4 separate regions of the Homo sapiens genome follow, and regions 2, 3 and 4 are each linked to region 1. Evidence: promoter capture Hi-C in 16 types of primary human blood cells and fetal thymus (Javierre and others, 2016). All regions are on one chromosome and are shown on one strand. Each heading gives the region's core, a stretch centred on a gene start or on the middle of the fragment in contact. The rest is flanking DNA. Distances are from core to core; before and after follow the strand shown.

The links. The method cuts DNA at HindIII sites, captures the fragments that hold promoters and counts their contacts. A CHiCAGO score of 5 or more calls a contact.
Region 2: a fragment that was not itself captured here is called in contact with the fragment with the promoter of FEM1C in region 1 in 1 of 17 cell types (total CD8 T cells); the score reaches 5.1 in total CD8 T cells.
Region 3: a fragment that was not itself captured here is called in contact with the fragment with the promoter of FEM1C in region 1 in 1 of 17 cell types (non-activated CD4 T cells); the score reaches 6.6 in non-activated CD4 T cells.
Region 4: the fragment with the promoter of MAN2A1 here is called in contact with the fragment with the promoter of FEM1C in region 1 in 1 of 17 cell types (total B cells); the score reaches 5.8 in total B cells.

Annotation. Positions count from the first base shown.
Region 1 is chr5:115,543,203-115,546,590 of GRCh38, reverse strand. FEM1C (fem-1 homolog C) reads left to right here and starts at 1,816. Exons shown (of 3, transcript NM_020177.3): 1 at 1,816-2,068; 2 at 2,908-3,388. The coding sequence starts at 3,098. RefSeq lists silencers at 1,526-1,865, 1,966-2,015, 2,066-2,235 and enhancers at 1,665-1,959, 1,501-2,267. The HindIII fragment of the contact is 1,787 bases long and covers 842-2,628 here.
Region 2 is chr5:123,417,339-123,420,726 of GRCh38, reverse strand. It overlaps CEP120 (centrosomal protein 120), which reads left to right. Exons shown (of 20, transcript NM_001375405.1): 2 at 2,212-2,368. Among named protein-coding and RNA genes, the nearest start is that of CEP120, 4.4 kb to the left of the region's middle. The HindIII fragment of the contact is 2,509 bases long and covers 461-2,969 here.
Region 3 is chr5:109,403,896-109,407,283 of GRCh38, reverse strand. The region is part of intron 1 of PJA2 (praja ring finger ubiquitin ligase 2); the gene reads left to right. Among named protein-coding and RNA genes, the nearest start is that of PJA2, 4.4 kb to the left of the region's middle. The HindIII fragment of the contact is 565 bases long and covers 1,856-2,420 here.
Region 4 is chr5:109,687,789-109,691,176 of GRCh38, reverse strand. MAN2A1 (mannosidase alpha class 2A member 1) reads right to left here and starts at 1,250. Exons shown (of 22, transcript NM_002372.4): 1 at 625-1,250. The coding sequence starts at 759. MAN2A1-DT (MAN2A1 divergent transcript) reads left to right here and starts at 78. Exons shown (of 1, transcript NR_186543.1): 1 at 78-3,376. RefSeq lists silencers at 387-486, 897-1,106, 1,137-1,656, 1,667-1,956 and enhancers at 2,067-2,166, 1,926-2,594. The HindIII fragment of the contact is 3,132 bases long and covers 1-2,393 here.

The DNA of each region.
Region 1 (3,388 bases), core at 567-3,066:
TCCGTCTATCCCTTAACAATCCCATGAGGGATACAGAGCTCAGTTTGAAGATGGCTGATGTGAATGTTTACATCTTATTGAATTAGGTGAGAGAGACAGGTCAGCTCAGGTTAGGCCTTGGTTGGGACACTGTACACTGTTATCTGTACCCTGGGAGAGTATAGAACTGTGACATATGCTGGGGATAAAACAGCCAGTCCTCTTGGCTGGTTAATTTTTATGGATGGTCAATCTTATCCTTTATACTCTATTCTTTTATATTTTCTTCTCAGTGGCAATTACCTTAACTTCAGTTTTGGGAATCTGATGTTGAGTGTAGTCTGATACTGACTACCTAAGGGAAATACTATGCTATACTTAAAAATTATTAAGACTGTAAAAACATAAGAAACGTTTAGAGTATAGAAAGGAAAAGCAAAATATATAGTTGTATGAAAATTATTTCAATTATGCAAAACTACATAAACTTCTGAACAACACTACAATATACAAAAATGAAGTTGTGATTTTTTATAAATGTTTTTAGTGCTGCATGACTTCTAACATAACGTTATGGATTACATATGCTGAGGGTCAGACTGCCTACTGTAATATTCTATTTCTCCTAGTGGTACTAAGGAATTATGTGAGCTTAAGTTCCCTCAAACAAAGTGATTGAAGGTCCATTTTCAAAAATTCTGTTTTCTCATCAGGATTCATTATGGGCGTTATTTCCCAAACACATTTAAACTTTTTCATCCTAGTTTAATGCAACGTAGGTTTTAGCATCAAATTCCAGAGGTTTATCAACTACTATATGAAGAAGTAATTCTTTTCATTCATATATATAACCTTTTAAGCTTTAGTTCCCGATTTATTACTCAGAGCTCAAGAACCTGACCTCATTGACTTTACATTGCTCTTAGGGTTTACCATTCCTCGTAGCCTTTATGCTTTTTAGAGGCTACTTTAGAAAGAGAGTCAGTTTGACAGCCTCCAAAACTAATCACATTTTCTGAAATTTCAGTTTCCTCCGTGTGTGTTCTGAGGTGTAATTACGAGCTTGGTAATTTCCAGGGCCCACCAAAGTAAGGACGGAAGACTAGTCCGAGAGACTTCACGTGTGTGAGGGTAATACTGGTCCGCACCCAAATTTGAATTTTAGCTCCCATGATTCCCACATATTGTGGGAGGGACCTAGTGGGAGATAATTGAATCAAGAAGGCTGTTTCCCCCATGCTGCTCTGGTGGTAGTGAGTACGTCTCAGGAGAGCTGATTGTTTTATATGGGGTTTCCCTTTTTCCTTGGCTCTGATTTTCCTCTCTTGCCTGCTGCCATGTAAGACGTGCCTTTCCCCTTCTGGCTTGATTGTGAGGCCTCCCCAGCCACGTGGAACTCTGAGTGCATTAAATCTTTTTATCTTTATAAATTACCCAATCTCGGGTATGTCTTTATCAGCAGCGTGAAAACGCACTAATACACTTCCCTTCTGGGGTCTCTGAGATGGGACCGAAAGATTCCCTAAGGGAGCACCCCGAAAATCCGAGAGGAGAAGAGCCAGCGAGATCTCAGAACTCGAGCTGCCTCGGGCCGCTTCGATGGGCACAGATCCGCCCCCTCGCAGCGCCCCGCCCCCCAGCGCGTTGCACGCAGGCACGTCCTCCCAGTAGTTCAGGCCCCGCCCCCTCCCCGTCGCCCCACCCCGGCCGCGACGCCCCGCCCCGCGCCTAGGCTGTTGCTGGCCGCGGCCGCCGCCCTCCCCCGGCCCAATGGCGTGGCGGCACAGTCAGTGATGTGACGCTCAGGCTTGTCCGGCCCCCGGCTCGCAGCCCATTACACCATCCGTCGCAGCAGTCGCTGCAGCCGCTGCAGTCCGAGCCGACTAAGGGCGGGAGGCAGCTCGGGTGGCGGGGCGTGGCGAACAGCGCGGCCGGATTCATTCCTTTGGGGCGCGGAGCATGGAGGAGCTGTGCGGCCGCAGGCGGAGCAGGGCGGCCCGGGCGGCGGTGGGGACAACGGTTTCCCTTTGAAGGGGACGGACAAAGCCCGAGTGACCAGCGGCGGCGGGGAGGACTAGTCCCCGGGCAGGTAGTGGCGGCGGCAGCGGCCTGCCAGGGCTCGGGCCGGGGCCTGAGGTGCCCGCGGAAGGCCTGGGCGGGAAGGAGGGCGCCGGGGGAGCCGAAGGCGGGCAGCGGGCTGGAGGCCACAGCTTGGCCCATCGGGAGGGGGTTGTGGTCGATGGAGGAGATTGGGAGGGGGCTGCCGTTGTCTGGAACAGGGAGAGGGGAAGGTTGTGTTGGGGCGACTGTGGTTTGAGGAACCTGCGGATCATCCCTTGGCGGGGGGTGGGGGGTGATCGAAATGGGGCGGGCGAAGTTAATGACTAAAAGGCAGGCGGATTTCCTGAGAGCCGTGAGTAGTTTTAAAGGAAAGAGAATCTTTCGGGGCACAGTTTTGGCCTTAGCCGGGGTTTGGTGTGTCCGACCTTTTTGTTCTTTCTCGAAACCCGGCCTCAGGCCTTCCAGCCTGGCGCCCTTGGCCAGCTCTCCTGCAGTTGCAAGAAAGAGAAACATTTCTGAACCCGAGTCTCCTGCCTCTTTCGGTTGTACTCTCCCTGGGCGTGTGCAAAGCAAAACTAGAACAAAGCTTGGCTGGTTAGAGCTGGAGGCGAGAAAACGGGCTGCCTGTAGTGTTTAAATTTTCCGCACATGGAGGAGACTGCCTGCGACCAGAACATTTGGGTCTCTGTGTATCCTTCTGTATTTTTCTTTACCACCTTTTCTTTGGGGGTGGGGGGGGTGTGTGGGATGGAGTAGTGCCTGAAGTATAGCTTTTATTCCTTTCTTCCCACAGAAGTGGAAATTAAGAAGTGTTTTGCCTTCTTCTATAGAAAATTAAATGCTGCTACTTTTTTTTTCTTTCTCTAGTTTGGTGCCCTGGTTGTCAGATGTTGGAAAGCAGTAGGACGGAACATACTCTTCGTGGTTGTGTATCCGTTCTGGGGTGCAGCAATTAACATTGGACTTTGGTTCCTGTGACTCTTGCCTGTGTCGATAGAGTTAAACTGGAGCTCTGCTTTGAAAGATAAATAAAGCACAGCCTCTCAACTGGACATAAATGGATCTAAAGACAGCAGTATTTAACGCAGCTCGGGATGGCAAACTCCGGCTTCTCACCAAATTGTTGGCAAGCAAATCCAAAGAGGAGGTTTCCTCCTTGATCTCTGAAAAAACAAATGGGGCCACGCCACTCTTGATGGCCGCCAGGTATGGGCACCTTGACATGGTGGAATTCCTCCTAGAGCAATGCAGTGCCTCCATAGAAGTTGGGGGCTCCGTCAATTTTGATGGCGAAACCATTGAGGGGGCTCCCCCTTTATGGGCCGCTTCTGCAGCAGGACATCTGAAG
Region 2 (3,388 bases), core at 466-2,965, 7.9 Mb before region 1:
GTAGTCTGATTCTTCAATGTTTTCTTCCTTTCCAGAAACATCTAGACTTCCTCCTTTACTCCCTGGGGATGATCTTTCTGAAATGCAAATCTGATTTTCTTAAAGTCCTTCAGTGTCCTAAAGGATAATGTCTGTATTTCTTAGAATGGCATACATGGCCCTTTGTGGTAGACCTCTTGCCTACCTTTTCAGTCTCATTTCCCCTCATGTATTCTCATCCCTTTGGCTTGGTGGAGGACTCGGGGGACTACAGTCCTTAAGAGTTAACTTGCAATTTCTTGACTACACTTTTAGAAATGCCCTTTATTTAAAAGAAAATGGTTAAGCTTTTACCATGAACAAAATTTGGGCTATGTACTAGATTCCAAGGATGAAAAAGACCATTTCTGTTATCTCTGTATCATTGTCTGCAGCAAGGCAGGCATCTGTTTGTTCCCTTCACATCCTCTGTTCTCAAGCTTGTTGGAAGCTGCTAGTTATAATAATATGGAAAATATAGGTTCTTTGACATATATGACATTCATTTGGGGAAGCTAGGTATCTTTTGGAGCAGCAGAAAATGAGGTCCTGAGATGGGCCTCTGTTAATGCTAATTGGGAGAGCTGTGCGATGTGTGTTAATACTCCTAATACAGAGTTTCAATGAGAGCCTCAGGCTTTAACTCACAAGGTTAGCAGTCAAGGTCTTTTTAACAGCTTAATTCCTACACTTCCCCCACAAGTAGCTTGTACCAGGGTGAGTAGCAGCAGGGATTTCTTCATTAATCAATGGATAAAATTCCCCTCAATAAGATCCACCTTAACAGATTTATAAACAAGAGAACTAGTTGACTCAGTGCAAGATTCTTAGTGCTTCTTCGTTGATGTTCTTTAGCTTCCTATTTTCAGTTTTTTTTGGTTTGTTTCTCTTAACTAGATCCTCAGTTTTTTTAGAGCAAGTACTCTGTTTTACTCATTTTGTACCCCACCATCTGATAAAATACCTGACTCTGAATATGTCTTCAGTAAACATTGATGAAATGGGGTTTGGCAGTACAAATGAAAAGTGATGTGTAGATAGAATATTTGAATATTTCCTGATAGTGTACAGTGTTGTCCTTGAGAATAGAATGAAGGAATCCATGTGGCTATTTTTCTTTAGCTAATTTGGAAAGTATTCTGTTTTTTTTTTTTTGTTTTTGTTTTTGTTTTTTTTTGAGATGGAGTCTTGCTCTGTTGCCCAGGCTGGAGTGCAGTGCTCACTGCCACCTCTGCCTCCCGGGTTCAAGCTGTTCTGCCTCAGCCTCCCGAGTAGCTGGGACTACAGGCGCATGCCACCACACCCGGCTAATTTTTTGCATTTTTAGTAGAGACGGGGTTTCACCAGGAAAGTATTCTTAACTGAGTTAACAGAAAAATTAAGCTGCAGGCAAATTTGTTTTTACTAATTTATTTCCCAGCTCTTCAGATGACTGTTCTCTATTAAGTAGTGCAATAGTAGTACCTAAAATTCGTGTAATCACATTAAGTGTTTAATTCCAGATGTTGTTGAGATCATTCCTACTCAAAGTGTGGACCAAGGACAGCAGCATTCACATCACCTTGGATCTTGTTAGAAATGCGGAATCTTAGGCCCACCCTAAATCTACTGAGTCAAAATCTACATTTTAACAGGGTCCCTAGGTGATTCATGTGCACACTAATGTTTGAGAAGCACACATTTATAAATTATAGCTTTCCATTTGATTCATGTTTCTTATGAATTATGGAAGTGAGTGTATATGTGAGCCTGCATTAGTGAGGTAGCTTATGGAATGCATGTCAACCACACTTAACAGATCATTAGTTTTAAAAAAACACATGCTAGGCTGGGCATGGTGGCTCATGCCTGTAATCCCAGCACTTTGGGAGGCCGAGGCAGGTAGATCACCTGAAGTCAGGAGTTCCAACATGGCAAAACCCTGTCTCTACTAAAAATACAAAAATTAGCTGGGTTTGGTGGTGTGCACCTGTAATCCCAGCTACTTGGGAGGCTCAGGTAGGAGAATCGCGTGAACCTGGGAGGCGGAGGTTGCAGTGAGCTGAGATTGCGCTACTGAACTCCAGCCTAAGCAACAGAGTAAGACTCCATCTCAAAAAAAAAAAAAAACCAGCCAAACAAAAAAACACATGGTAAATGATCCTGTTTGATTTTTGTACACTTTTGATTAATCTATATATTCTGTTTCTCCAGGTCGGCATTTCCCCAAACGTCCAAAGCATATGCTTGTAGTGGAAGCAAAGTTTGATGGAGAACAGTTGGCTACTGATCCTGTGGACCACACTGACCAGCCAGAATTTGCTACTGAGTTAGCTTGGGAAATTGACAGGAAAGCGCTTCATCAGCACAGGTGATTATCATTTTCATTTTAGCTTCTTTATTGGTTTCTTATTTTTCAGGCTGTTATAAATAAATACAGTTTGAGTATTTAATACTTGGGACCAGAAGTATTTTCGGATTTTTGGAATATCTGCATAATCAAAGATACCTTGGGGATGGGACCCAAGTCTAAACATGAAATTTATTTGTTTTACATTATACGCATAGTCAAAGGTAGTTTTATATAATATTTTAAATAAATTTTCATAAAATGAAGTATGTTAAATGCTTGTGTGTGGAATTTTCCGTTTGTGGCATTATGTCAGCACTCAAAGTTTTAGAATTTGGAGCATTTCAAATTAGGAATGTTCAACCTATAAATTTTGTATCTGTCATTACGTTTAATAATTATAGTTATTGAGTGTTTTTTTAAATGTGACAGGAAATTTTTAAAGTACTTTGCAACAATAACAGTTAAACATCAGAACAACACTATGAAGTTGTTATTTTTATTTCGCCCATATTATAGATGAGGAAACCGAGGCCTGAGATGTTAAGTATTAGTAACTTGTTTTAAGTCTGTTAGCTTAGTAGTGGTAGAGCCCAGGCAATCCAGCTTCAGAGCCTAAGCTTTTACACTACACTTACACTGAGCTGTTTGGGTTTTTTTTTTTTCCTAATGTGTGAGACAGTAGATATTCTAGAAATACCTTGATGATACCTACTCATTATTAAATATGGTTGGAATTCCTTGTAATTTCTGTTAATTTATTTATTGTATATTTACCTGGCTTGCCAAGGATATATAGAGGGGTATCCAGTGAAAAGTTATGAAAGTAATTCTATCAAGGTTTCTTTCTAATTAATTTATATTTAATTTTAAACAAAACCACTTTATTAGTATATAAAATAGACTTAAAGTTATAGTATATATTTTTTGTGAACTCTGACTAGAAGCAGGCAACAACAATAAAAGCAATACTCTTATTTATTTAAGGATTAAAAATATATTTTCTTCTGGAAAACATGTTATCACTTTAATACTTGCTTG
Region 3 (3,388 bases), core at 889-3,388, 6.1 Mb after region 1:
GTGGGCATCACCAGTATTCCCTGGTTTATATTTTCCTGAGAGAGCACCCTCTTAGAAAATCAACCTTATTGAGGATAACTTAGATACAGTAAAATGTACTTATTTGAAATGTACAGTGTATTTTGTTTTGACAAATATGTGCTCTGTGACCACCACCACAGTCAAGAGTGGAATATTTTCATACCACAATTAAGATATAGAATATTTTCATCTCCCCCAAAGTTCCCTTTTGCAGTCAATCACAATTTCACCCTCAGGACTAGGAAAGCACTTATCATCTTTTTCTTGCTATAAATTGGTATCATTTTGTCTAGAATTTCATGTAAGTGGAATGATGTAATACATACTCTTTTGTATCTGGCTTTTTCTCTTGGCATGTTTTTCAGGATTATCCATGTTTTTCTGTATTTAACGGGTTCTCATTTTATTGCTGAATAGAAGTCCTTGGTATTGATTTACTAGTTTGTTGACCATTCCACCTATTTACAGATACTTGGATTGTTTCCAGTTTGGGGCTGTTATTAATAAATAGCCTTCATTTGTTGAACATTCCTTTATTCAATGAACATTCATTTATTTTGAATTTTTGTGAACATCTTTTTTTTCTTGGTAAATACCTAGACATGGAACTTGTTGGGTTGTATGATACATGGATGTTTATAAGAAACTGCCAAACTGTTTTCCAGAGTGGTTGTCACATTTTACATATCCATCAGCAGTGTATGACAGTTCCAATTGCTCCACATCATCCTCAGCACTTGGTTATTTCAGTCTTTTAAATTTTAGCCCTTTTAGTGGGTATATAGTAGTATCATACTGGGATTTTGATTTGCATTTACCAGATGACTAATGGTGCTGAGAATTTGCTCTAGTGTATGTCTTCCTTTGTGAAGTATCTGTTGACATTTTTTGCTCATTAAAAAACAAACAAACAACAATGGGTGGGCCTGGCGCGGTGGCTCACGCCTGTAATCCCAGCACTTTGGGAGTCCGAGGCAGGCGGATCACGAGGTCAGGAGATCCAGACCATCCTGGCTAACACGGTGAAGCCCCATCTCTACTAAAAATACAAAAAATTAGCCGGGCGTGGTGGCGGATACCTGTAGTGCCAGCTACTCCGGCTGAGTTAGGATAATGGCGTGAACCCGGGAGGTGGAGCTCGCAGTGAGCCAAGATCGTGCCACTGCACTCCAGCCTGGGCGACAGAGCGAGACTCCGTCTCAAAAAAAAAAAAAAAAAAAAATGGGTTTGTCTTATTGAGTTGTAAGCATTTTTTAATACATTCTTTATACAACTCATTTGACACACAGAGATACATAAACACACACACACACTGCAATCTGAAGCTTGTTTTTTTTTTATTTTCCTAACTTTAAAAGAAGAGCTTTTAATTTTGATAAATTCATCTTACCAACTTTTTCTTATGATTTGTGCTTCTGTGTTCTAAGAACTCTTTGCTTAATGCAAAGTTGTGCAGATTTACTCTTAGGATTTTTCTATAAGTTTTCTAGTTTTGGCTTTCATGTCAAGGCACATTATCCATTTTGGGTTAGTTTTTGTATATGGTGTGTAGTAAGGGTCAAGGCTCATTTTCTTTTCAAATGTATATGTAGTTCTAGCACCATTTGTTGGGACTACTTTCCTTTCCCCATTGAATTAACTTTGTCAAAAGTCAGTTGATCATATATGTAAATCTGTTCCTGTACTTTTCTCTTGATCTTTATGCCTATAATTTTGCCAGTACTGAGTTATCATGGTTATTTTTACTTATAAGTATTGAAATTAGGTAATATGAATCCTTGAACTTTATTCTTTTTCAAAATTGCCTTGGCTATTCTAACTTTACCGTAAAGCTTTTAGAGGCTGCGTGTTGGTTTCTACAAAAAGACCTGAAGGGATTTTAATTTGGTTTGTGTCGAATGCATAGATCAATTTAGGAAGAATCGACATCTTGAGTCTTCCAATTCATGAATACAGGTTGTCTCCATTTATGTAGGTCTTCTTTCATTTCCTTTGTCAGCATTTTGTAGTTGCAGCATGAAGATGTTGCTCATTTTGTTGGATTTATATCTAAGTATTTAATAATTGATACCATTATAAGTGATAATTTTCTTAAATTTTAGTTTCCAGTTATTCACTGCTATATGTAAAAATACAGTTGGTTTTTGCATATGGACCTTGATGCTTGCAACCTTGCTAAATTCATTCATTTGAGTAAATTTTTTGTAGATTCTCTGGAATTGTCCTATGTAGACAATCATGTTATTTGCAAATATAGATCAGTTTTATTATTTTTGAATTTATATGTAACTCCTTCCACCTTTTCTTCTTCTTAGACTGGCTAAGACCTCCATTATGATGTTGAATAGCAGTGGTGAAAGCAGATATCCTTCTCTGTTCCTGATCTTAAGAAGAAAGCTTTGAATCTTTCATTATTGAGTGTGATAGAGTGGTGCTATAGCTTGAATGCTTATGTCCCTTCCAAAATTCATAGCATTGAAACATAATCCCCATTGTGAGGGGGATCTCAAGGAGGTGATTAGGTCATGAAGCTTCTGCCTTCATTAATGGATTCGTGTGCTTATAAAAGAGGTCCCAGAGAGCTCCTATCCCCTTATGCCGTATGAGAACACAGTGAAAAAACTGCAGTCTGTGAACCAGGAAGTGGCTCTCACCAAACGCTGAATCTACCAGCACCTTGATTTTGGACTTCCCAGCCTCCAGAACTGTGAAAAATAAATTTCTTTTATTTTTATTTCTATTTTTTTTTGACAGAGTCTTGCTCTGTCGGCTAGGCTGGAGTGCAGTGGCAGTCTCAGCTCGCTGCAACCTCGGTCTCCCAGGCTCAAGCAATTCTGCCTCAGCCTCCCGAGTAGCTGGGATTACAGGCGTATGTCACCATGCCTGGCTAATTTTTGTATTTTTAGTAGAGACGGGGTTTTACCATGTTGGCCAGGCTGGTCTCAAACTCCTTACCTCAGGTAATCCACCTGCCTTGGCCTCCCAAAGTGCTGGAATTACAGGTGTGAGCCACCGCGCCCAGCCGAGAAATAAATTTCTGTTGTTTATAAGCCACTTCAGTCTATGGGAGCTTGTTATAGGAGTCCTAATGGACTAAGACAAGTGGCCTTTTATCATATTGAGGATGTTCCCATTCTATTCTTGGATTGCTGAGAGGTTTTTGTTGTTGTTGTTGTTGTTGTTGTTGTTTTTGAGATGGAGTCTTGCTCTGTTGCCCAGGCTGGAGGGCAGTGGCACCATCTCAGCTCACTACAGCCTCCGCCTCCTGGGTTCAAGTGATTCTTCTGCCTCAGCCCCCTGAGTAGCTGGGATTACAGGTACACGCCACCAAGCCTGGCTAACTTTTTTGTATTTTTGTAGAAATGGG
Region 4 (3,388 bases), core at 1-2,500, 5.9 Mb after region 1:
GCGCTTCCCCACTCGGTTCCCCCTGTCTGCCACAAACAAACCAGATGTAATAGCTGAAGAATGACGACACTAAAATCAACCTAGAGATTCACATCTAAAAGGGCCGCAACACGAAATAAACTTCTCTCTCTTCAGAGGCAGCGGGGAAGAAAAAGAAAAAAAAGCCTAGGTGGGTTCGGTTTGATCCATTTCCGCGACTCCGTGCGCTCAGGGGCTCTGGGCTGGTGCGGGCGGCTTAACCCTGTGAGAGCCGAGAACGACCCCACCGGGATACGCGGGCCCCGGGCTGGCGGGGGGTGCCTCACGCCGCGCCCGTTCCCCCGCCAGCAGGTGCCCGAAGCCACCCCAACAGGCCGGGTGCGAATGCCGGAACATGGCCACTTTCCTGAGCGGGATGATGCCGCCGCCGCCGCCGCACGCCGCCCAGCACTTTGTTAACTTGGCGCGCCCGGGCGAGGTGGCTCCCAGGAGGTGATCATTGCCGTCCGAGAGCTACAGAGCCCCTGGCCTCGCCCAGCACGGGTGTGGGGCCGCGGCGGGAGGAAGAGGTTGGGTAGCAGCCGCTAACCAGGGGCCCGCACGCCTGGCCCCTCGGAGCCCCGCGCCCCCTTCCCAGGTGCTTACCTGAGGGAAGGAGCCCTCGCGGCGCGGGTTCCTGGGGTAGTCTAAGTGACCCCGGTCCAGCATCAGGTAGAGCGAGAAAATCACCACACAGAAGATCGCACTGCCGAACACGGTGAACTGGCGGCTTAACTTCATTTTCCTCGATAGACTCGGGGCCAGGACACTCTCCTCAGCCAAAGGAGACAGCGCACTGTGGACTCTAGGAAGCAGCCGCCGGAGGCTCCCTTCTCCCGGGCTGCGCGACCTCCGCGCTCTCGGATGCGGGTGCGAGTCCCCGCCTTGCTCCGCACCTAGTCTCCGGCGCCACCACACGCCCTTGGCCTTCGCCCTGGCCTGCCGCCCTCCCCGGGGTCGGGCGCCCCTCTCGAGGCGAGACTCGCCGGCAACTGGGAAGGGGGGCCCCCACAAACTTGATCGCAAGCTCAGCGCCGACCTCCGGCAGGGCGCGCGGGGCAGGCGGAGGAGAGGTCGCTGCCCGCACTTCCTGCCACCGCCGCCCCAACTGAGTCGGCAGGAAAAGTTTTCTCGACGAGGGCAGGCGTGTCCTCCTCACCCAGGGGAGGCGCGGGTTCGGCAGCTCCCGGGCCGGGGCCGCGCAGCTAGGTCAGAGAAGCGGAGGGGAAAGGAACAAGATCGCGAGGAGCCAAGCCCTACAACTTCTGGGCGGGACGGTCGGGCCCGCCCCCGCGGCACCGGCACCGCCCCCGCCTACCCCGACTGAGCCCCTTCGTGCTGCTGCCGCCGCCGCCGCCGACGCTGCGGCTGGGCCGATGTGCACCCCGGACTCCGGGGCTCACGGATTGATGAGTTTCCTCAGAGCTAGCGTCCGCTCGCCAGACTCTCCCGCCCCCCGCCGCCCCTACCTTCCCCCTCCCGGACCCAGGCTCCGCGGGGAGGCGCAGGGGGCGGGCGGCGGCAACGCGGAAAGAAGGAAAAGGAGAGCAGGGAGGAAAGGACCGTCCCCGGAGAGAAGCCCGCTCCAGCTGCAGCCGCTAGCCCCCTCCCTCTTTCCCGCCCCACAAACGCGGAGATGGCGGCGGAAGCGGCGAAAGGAAGCGCCGGTTCTCCAGCGCCACTTGGCGCTCCAGCACCGCCCGCCACGAGCAGGAGGAGACAGCGGCGGCGCAGCAGCCGCTGGGTCAATAGGCGCCCGCAGCGCCTGAGCCGAGCGGGCGGCTGGCCCCGCCCCCTCCCGACGCTCCGAGATGAGGGGGCGGGCCCCACGGCGCCCAATCACAGCGCGTCGCCCGGCGGACCCGCCCCGCGCCTGCCTCCCAGTGTCCCGGCGATAGGAAGACCTCACAGGGCTCTTGTGACCTGGCAGGCAGCTTTCTGGGAGTTGAGGCCTTCGGGGGCGTTCAGGCGCCAGCACCCCCACGTCCAACAGGGGTTGAGCTTACACCCCACTTCCCTTTGTTGCTCAGGTTTCCTATCCTAGGACACTCGGGCCTGGCGTGCCTGGAAGAGTACTTGGTGACGGGCTGGAGGAAATGCAAGAGAAGAGGGCTTGCACATTCTCTTCGGGCTCACTATTTCCTCCTTTGGTGACAGCCTGTTAAAACCTGGGGGAAAGGAGACTGACAAAGGGCCGTCCAGGCACATGTAGAAACATCTGACTACGAAATCCATGAGTGTAATCTGAGAAGTGATGCTTCTGCCAGTTATTGATTTATTGCCTCTCAGCTCCAAATTCGCCCTTTTTGACTGCACTGTAAAAACGGATCTGAGCCTTTTAAACAGTTTTTCGTTTGCCTTCTGGGACTGAAGCTTTATCAGCAGAGGGCGCTGAAGAGACATTACAGAAAAAAAGGATTTTGCTTCCTGATTTCTGTGTATTGATAAGCTTTTGCAGCATACCTGGCTTTCTCCACTGCCAAGGTCCTATAGTGCTCAGTAACTAGCAATTTCCTCTCACATGCCCAACTCTAGGAGCTTTGTAGAGGAGGTGAGACACTACCCCATGAATAACTTCCCTGGCACCCTAGAGGCATTTGCAGCAAGTTGCAGAGGGCACATCTTCCACAAGCTTTGCAGACGTAGCCCAATGGTGACTTCTCTGCCATTCAGTGAGCCAGGTCATGCCCTCTCCAAAAACGTCTAGATCTTAGCCCTGGGAGGAATTGGGGAGGTTCTTCATTGGGCACTCTGTCTCTCAACCCAAGAGTTAGTTATAAGGTTAGCTCCTTATAGCTGCTGTTGCTATATTCTTTAAAGTTCTCTTCTTGCTAGTGAATCCTTCATTACTCTAATCCTCTATTATAGTTAACAATTCTTTTTATTAAGCCTTCCCTGTCCCGGGAGTAGTCCCAAGAAATAGACCTGCAAAGATGGGATTAAAGGTCAGTTTGATTGAGGTTTTGAGCTTTAGCTCCTTGCCAAAGGGAAATGTAATTCATGACATGCTGGGCATCTCAATTAAGCAATTACCTGTGGTTGATCCTGATGAAGTGCCAACTGAAGCCTGTGCCTTGGGGCCCCAAGTGGCTGCTACACTTGACTGCTATGGTTATAAAGATGACTAGAAAGACTGGTGTGGGATGGATTCTTTTGCGTGCTTTTGAGTGGTTATAAAGAGAAATGACAAGCACAGGTTTTTTAACTCTCAGAGTTATGGTATGAGAACCAGAGATATTCTGCAGAATTCCAAAAGCTCTGGTTTATTGTAGCAACAAGAATTATGCTGAGAATCAAACAAAATTTTAATTTTCATGTTACTGAATTATAACTGCTATTAAATTCACACATATTCTGAGTTTTTCGTGTA